Linked DNA regions of Homo sapiens: region 2 is linked to region 1. Evidence: promoter capture Hi-C in human tissues and cell types (Jung and others, 2019). All regions are on one chromosome and are shown on one strand. The core of a region is centred on a gene start or on the middle of the fragment in contact, and the rest is flanking DNA. Distances in the headings are between cores, read along the strand shown. Region 1 holds the start of ACTL10 (actin like 10). Region 2 overlaps RALY (RALY heterogeneous nuclear ribonucleoprotein).

Region 1 (3,474 bases), core at 509-3,008:
ACTGAGGCACTCATAGTCAACAATGACCTGAGCACATGGCTAGGCACAGGGCTCCTCCTCCTGGTGACTTTCACATGAGATTTAGTAGCTTTTCAAGGGATCGCCCCTTGGGGCCTGGCATCGGATGTATGTCCAAATGGTACATGACGAGGGTTTGGAGGAACTCCCATATCTGTGGCATGGACACAAGTGGGGCATCACCTTTATTGCCATAAAGTAGGGCCCTGTGGGTAGGCAGCTGGACTGGCATTCTCTGAACTGGCAGTGGTTGGGGAGATTCAAACTGCAGTTCAAAATGAGGGTCCCATGGGTCCCAAATACCTTCTCCTGGCCCAGAAAGGGTATGGGGGTGACCCATCCAGTCAGCTCCAACCTCCAGGAGGACCCTGCCAGCTCCAAACACTTGACTCTTTAGATAGAGAGCTGTCCCCCAACGCAGTGCCACCCCCCCCAGTCCAGCCTGACTCAGTTGAACACATCGTACAGCAGCCTGGAGCCACACTCCTGGTACATGGCCCGAGTTATCCAGCGGCGCTGGAAGGAGTGCAGGGAGGCCACCATGGAGCCGCCGGTCCACACAGCCATGCCACGCCCATGCTTGGCCACCAGGTGGGGCCGCAGGGCCGCGTAGCCGTGCCGCCGGCACTGCGCCTCCAGCTCCTTGTCCAGGCGCTCGGCGAAGCCAGGAAACAGTGTGGAGCCGCCGGCTAGCACCACGGTGTCTGCCAGGCGTGTCCGCAGCGTTTTGGGCATCTTCTGCAGCGCCCGGAAGGCCAGCGCGGGCAGCCCCTGCTCAGCCTGGCCCAGCAGGCCCGGCTGGAAGATGGGTTCGGGGCAGCGGAAGCGCTCACTGCTGAGGCAGACGCAGCACCCGTTACCCACGCTGAAACTGGCCGGATGGTGGCGGGCGGGGTCGCGGAGGTCGCCCTCGAAGTCCAGGGACACGTAGCAGCTGCGCTTCTTGAGATGTGTGATGGCCTTGCGGGGCAGGGCCTGCTGCAAGAGGTCAGGGTTCGCCGCCACCAGCAGATCCCGCAGGTAGCGCGACAGGGTGCTGCCTGCCACGTTCAGTCGGAAGGTGGCCTGGTGCCACGAGTGACCCGCGTAGATGGGCGTGGCGTGGCACACGCCCGCGCCCGCCTCCACGGCCAGCCCGCTGAACGCGCCGGTGGAGCAGAGCGCCAGCAACGCGGTGCTAGCCATGTGGCACGCGGGCACTGCCAGGGTCTCGAACAGCAGCTCCGCCACCCTTTCGCGGCCCGCGGGCGGCGCCAACGGCGAGTCGCTCACCAGCACGGGCCACTGCTCTGGGCACACCCGCAGGCCGCCCACCAGCAGGCGCTCCCACAGCCCTTCCAGCGCCTCCCAGTCCGCCACCACGCCGTGCTTGATGGGGTGCGCCCGCGCCACGCCGCCCGCCAGCTCGCAGCCCGGCGCTCCGGGCAGCACCGGCCGGTCCCAGCTGGGCACCAAGCTAGAGCTCTTCAGCACTATGCGCGGCTGGTTCTCGCCCGCGAAGCCCGCCTTGGTGAAGCCCGAGCCCTGGTCCACCACCACCGCGATGCGGCCCAGGGAGGACGGCCGGTGCACGCGGCGGCTCCCCGACACCGACGCCACCTTCGGGCTCGGCCCAGCCGCGGGGCTGAAGGCTCCGCTCCTCCGCGCCACTCGGCTTCGTCGGCCCGATACCTCCCGGCCTCTGTCCTAGGGAGTAGTCCCCTTCAGCCTTTGGCTCTGCCTCCGGAGCCTAAGTTCTTCCTCTTCTGGACCAAATCACCACCCTTTTCAGCTCTTGGCTCCGCCCTCTGGTCTGAAAGCCCCGCCTCTTCTGTCCGGGCCATCCGCCTCCTTTTCAGCTCGTGGCTAGTTCCTAGGCCTGAGGCCCGGCCCCTAGTTCAGGCTTCAGTCTCCGCTCTGGCTGGGTTCCAGCCGCATCTCACCCTCTTGGTCTCCCTCTGGCGCCGGGCTTCAGGCTCCACGCTCTCAGGACCCGCCTCTGCTTTGCTGTTCCGCCCCGTCAGCCCTTGCTGAGATGGCTGACGAGATGGCTAGGACTGATCCTTTTAGATCCTAAGAAGCCCCCGGGAGGAGCAGAACTTTGAGGGCGAAGGGGCCTTGTGGTAAGGCCATTTGGACATATATCCCCCTTGAGGACCCAGGCAGCCTCCTGGCACCTCTCACCTGGGCTTGACGGAAGTTCCTGGTTGTGGAGAGGGGAGGGGCTGGTCAGAAGGCAGAAAAGAACTTGGATTGGGCTCATTGTGACCTCACTCCCCAGCAGCTGCACTTCGCAGCTCCCTACCTTATGACAACTCCCTGGACCCATCCTCTCTTCTGGACAGAGCCAAGGGCAGTGATTTTGGCATCCAGGGGTCTGGCTTCAGCAGCCCAGCACAGTCTGATTCCTTTCCCAAACCACTTAGAATTATCTGATGTACTCTGTCCAGATGTGTGGCCCCCTACCCCTCCCAGTGCTGAAGAAAAAGCTTTTTCATCACAGATCTGCAGCTTCCCTGAAGAGCCCCCGAGAGGCTCTGGCCCTACCTTTATGGGCTTCCACGGATGGATTCACGTGGGCCTCAGTTTGAGACTCAGTTCTTTTTTTTATTATTATTATTTTTGAGACGGAGTCTCGGTCACCCAGGCTGGGCGTGCAGCGTTGCAATCTCAGCTCAGTGCAACCTCTGCCTTCCGAGTTCAAGTGATTCTCCTGCCTCAGCCTCCTGAGTAGCTGGGACTACAGGCATGCACCACCATACGCGGCTAATTTTTGTATTTTTAGTGGAGACAGGGTTTCGCCACGTTGGCCAGGCTGGTCTCGAACTCCTGACCTCAGGTGATCCACCTGCCTTGGACTCCCAAAGTGCTAGGATTACAGGTGTGAGCCACCGCACCCAGCAAGACTCAGTTCTGAAGCTGACTCACTGTGCAGTCCTAAGCAAGTCTTGATCTTTCTCTGGGTTCGGTTTTCTCCTCCAAAAGGTAGTAATAATCCCCCCACACAGGAAAGAGGTCACTTCTTGTCTCTGCAAAGCCTCATCCTCCTGAGGACCAGTTTGGTTGCAGGTAGAAGACTCAGGTGAATGTAACCCAAAATAAGGACTTTATTGAAAGGATCTTACATGTTATGGATATCAAGAGCAAGGGTGAAATCAGGTTTCAGGAACAGAATCTGACTGCGGGGCTGTGGGGAACCCAGGATGTGCACTGCATTGTGTTGTTTGTTTTTTGAGATGGAGTCTCGCTCTCTTGCCCAGGCTGGAGTGCAGTGGTGTGATCTCAGCTCACTGCAACCTCTGCCTCCTGGGTTCAATTCCCCTGCCTTAGTCTCCCGAGTAGCTGGGACTACAGGCGCCCGCCATGATGCCTGGCTAGTTTTTTGTATTTTTAGTAGAGACGGGGTTTCACCGTGTTAGCCAGGATGGTCTCGATCTCCTGACCTCGTGATCTGCCTGCCTCAGCCTCCCAAAGTGC
Region 2 (3,727 bases), core at 401-2,900, 330 kb before region 1:
AAGAGACACCATGTAAGCAGTACCGTTAACTAAGCTTATTAAAATCCTTAATAAAATAAACAGGAGACAGCTAAATACCAGATAAATGCCTCTGGAATGAAGAAAATCTGGCCAATAACATTAAGCTTCCAAACCTGGCATTCTAAAAGAGAATATTTACTTGGAATAAAGCAATGAGTCTTACCTTGACAAATAACAGAGCTATTCAGTCTCTACAGATGGCACTTCAAGGGCCAGGTAACCTCAGTAGAGGCATCTACTCCATAAGCTAAAGCTCTTAGGAAATGCAAGTTTCTGGTCTAGTGTTTTTCCATTATTACCATTGTGTGAAAATCTTAAAATGTTTTTTATTTTTCCTTTATTATGTGATTTTAAACAGTTTGCTACATATTTTAATGTAATTTTTTTATAGTCTTGGACTCCAAGTTTGTCCCATGAGGCTACAGCTCCAAGTTTATAATGGAACTCAGCATACAATTTGATAAATTCATCTCACAAGCAATTTTTCAGCAATCTGTCCACTCTAAAAAGCAATATCCATCTGTTTATATACTGAAAGGTATCTTTTGTGAACCCAGAATTTAACCCTCTGAGATACTCTCAATACTTTAGCAAAGCCCTTTCTCCTTCCAGAGATAAATTCTCAAGCCACTTCCACAAAACTGTAAAAAGGTAGAAATATCACTCAAGATTATCTAGTCCAATTCCCTTGTTTCACAGACAGGAAGACAGAGATCCCACAGAATATTAGATAATTACAATTAACATGGGTTTGGCAAGCAACAAAAGCCCACTGACTGCTATTTTCCCCAGTCAAACTCATTGGTGTGTTGGGAAGATAGCCAGATTTGCACTTTAGTTAGTAGAGCACTCCCTAGGAAACTCAAGTATGTACCCTCTAAGAAACCCAAGTATTCAGCCACAACCCCCTACCCCAACCCCAGAATAGAGAACAGGGGGCAGTGGATGTCTTAAATGGCTCTTCTGGAGATGGAGACTAGAGCCCAGGGACAATATCCCATCTTTCCTTCCTTCCTCCCAGGAGGTACAGGACATTGATTACCATGAAAGCCATTATGAAATGACAGAAGACACTAACACTGAGGAAATAAGGCAAGGCTGTGGAAACAAAAGATGACCAACATTAATACTTGGCCAGATACCTGCTTCTACTTATTCGTTCGAAGAGAGGGGAGAAGTGAGAGAGACAGGGACCTCCAACCCTTTTTCTGTCCCTACCTCCCCACCCCCACTCTTTGGGCCTTTATAGAATTTCAGGGACCCCCCCAGATGATTTTATGAGGAAACAGGGCTATAAAAAGAAAGGACCTTAGTCCAGCCCACACACTGACCAAACGATGCTCAGGCTAGTGACAAGACTTCCTATTTATTCCACTGCACTCTGTCTCTATTCCTAAGGGTCTGTGAGCTGCACCCTGAGCACAATTTCCTTACAGTACCCAGGGGGAAGTTGTAGGACAAGCAGGTTAACATTACGGCTGTCATTTTCTCCCTTCCAGCTATATAGACATGAAGCCAAAATTGAATAAGACCAAGACACTCAAGTGAAAACCTTGCTATCTCCACCCCTACTATATCCCCTCACCAATGCCAAACTAAGAAGGGGGAGAAGAAGAAAGAAATACCTCTCCTAGAGATATATTATCTAAACCACCACCTAGAATCATAAAATGTAATTGCTAGAAGGGACCTTATGGGTCATCTAGTCATTATTCAGATGAATAAACCTAGACACGTGCCACCCGAGAAAAAGACTGGAGCACACAGTGGGGTCTCCTGACTCCTATCCCTAATAGAAACCCTTCCGGGTCCCTCTCCATCCTGTCCTACCCTGCCCTGCCCCATCCACCCTCTCCCCAGGCCACCGCTGTATCCAAGCTACTGAGACTTCTGCCCTTCTGGATCATGAGCTCCTTAGGATACGTTTTACTTATCTTTGTTTTCCCAGTGCCTAGCAGAGAGTAAGCAGAGAAGTGGCTTCGGCTTAGAGAGGGACTTAGGAATACACTAGTACACGAAAAGACCAGTGCCAAAGGATGTAGCCTGGATAAAATGTAAACTTTTCTTGGCTTAACGTAAGCAGTTTCCAGGCTGTGCCACACCCGGATGTCTAGGATTGAATATCTCCTCTCTTCCTAAACTAATGTTTGCATCATCCAGTTTAGCCAGGAACATGACCAGTTGTGCCATACTCTCACTCTCTCCCTTTCAGACCTGACACAAAGAACTAGAATCCATAACCAGAGGTAAGTGAAAGCATATGTAAGGAGACCCTGCATAAGAAACCCTACCCCCTCCCTTACGTGCTCCTTCTTCTCCTGTGTCCTCACCTCAATAAACAGCACCCATTTACAAAACTGCACCAGGTAGAAACCAGATGTCATCCCGATTCCTTCCTTACCCTCCACACCAATAATCTTTGTCTCATCACTCAATTCCACCTTTTTTCTTTCCTTTTTTTTTTTTTTTTTTGAGATGGAGTCTCACACCCAGGCTGGAGTGCAGTGGTTCGATCTCAGCTCACTGCAACCTCCACCTCCCAGGTTCAAGTGATTCTCCTGCCTTAGCCTCCCACATAGCTGGGATTACAGGTGCCTGCCACCACACCCGACTAATTTTTTTTTTATTTTTAGTAGAGACGGGGTTTCACCACGTTGGCCAGGCTAGTCTCAAACTCCTGACCTCAGGTGATCCACCCACCTCAGCCTCCCAAAGTGCTAGGACTACAAACGTGAGCCACCACGCCCAGCAATTCCATCTTTTTTCTGCACACACTCTTGCACACGCTCTCCCACAACCTTCATTTGAAACACCATCACCTCTTGCCAACCTCCTAACTGGTCTCTCTGCCCACAGTGTTCTAGCTCTCCAGTCCGCTCCTGAACAGGCAGCCAGAGATATCCTTCCAAAATGCACATTGAATCATGGCCCCCTCACCTCCGGATGAAGTCCAAACTCCTCAACACAGGCAAGAAGGCCCTTTCCTGACTTGGCCTCTGCTCTGCCTACCTTGAAAGTCTCCTGTCTGGCCATATCCACCCACCTCAAGCATTATGCTCCACCCAAGAATCCTGAGAAATTTGTTTAGCTCTCTTGGCCCGTTTCCTTCAACTACAGAATGGGAATAGTAACAGTACGTACTTTCGGGATGGTCTTAACCTATTATCACCATTTCTGAACTTACTGTTCCTTCTACCTAGAACAGTCTTATCTCTGCCTCTTCCCTGACTCCCCAGATCTCTTCTTTTCCTGGCTTATGTCTGTTCTCTTGAGGGCTAGGCTTAACCAACTTCTCCTCCTAAAAAGCCTTCCCTGACCTTCCAATGCTGGGTTAGGCATCATTTTTCTGTGCTCTCCTGGTGTCTGTCCCTGTGACAACACTTCTCACACTGCCTGTTTCCTTGCCTATCTTTCCCACTACGCTATACAAACCCAAATCCCTAAGCGTAGCACCAGGTCTAACAGAGGCTCATTAATTCTTCAGTGAATGAAAAACTTTCCAAAAATGAGGTATCCAAAGAAAGACAATCTCAACAAGTAACCAACTCAAATGTCAGCCAGGTGGCTGGTCTAAATGACTGTAAGGTCCCTCAACTACAAGATTCTATTCAATAAATTCAACACACTGACCTCATGGGTCATATTTGTTTGAACTTTAATATGCAGGCAATGTTGGGGCCATCAGATTTTTAAGGAGAGTGTGACA

The links. The method cuts DNA at HindIII sites, captures the fragments that hold promoters and counts their contacts. A contact is called where the count stands out against the background at its distance.
Region 2: a contact is called between a fragment that was not itself captured here and the fragment with the promoter of ACTL10 in region 1, in 2 of the 25 tissues and cell types used here (bladder and thymus).

What each region holds. Positions count from the first base shown.
Region 1 is chr20:33,665,227-33,668,700 of GRCh38, reverse strand. ACTL10 (actin like 10) reads right to left here and starts at 1,758. Exons shown (of 1, transcript NM_001024675.2): 1 at 176-1,758. The coding sequence starts at 1,203. The coding sequence ends at 466. The region is part of intron 5 of NECAB3 (N-terminal EF-hand calcium binding protein 3); the gene reads left to right. RefSeq lists enhancers at 956-1,035, 1,846-2,065 and a silencer at 1,386-1,715. The HindIII fragment of the contact is 10,203 bases long and covers 1-3,301 here.
Region 2 is chr20:33,997,890-34,001,616 of GRCh38, reverse strand. All of the region lies in intron 1 of RALY (RALY heterogeneous nuclear ribonucleoprotein), which reads right to left. Among named protein-coding and RNA genes, the nearest start is that of RALY-AS1, 5.4 kb to the right of the region's middle. RefSeq lists an enhancer at 2,326-2,826. The HindIII fragment of the contact is 3,140 bases long and covers 81-3,220 here.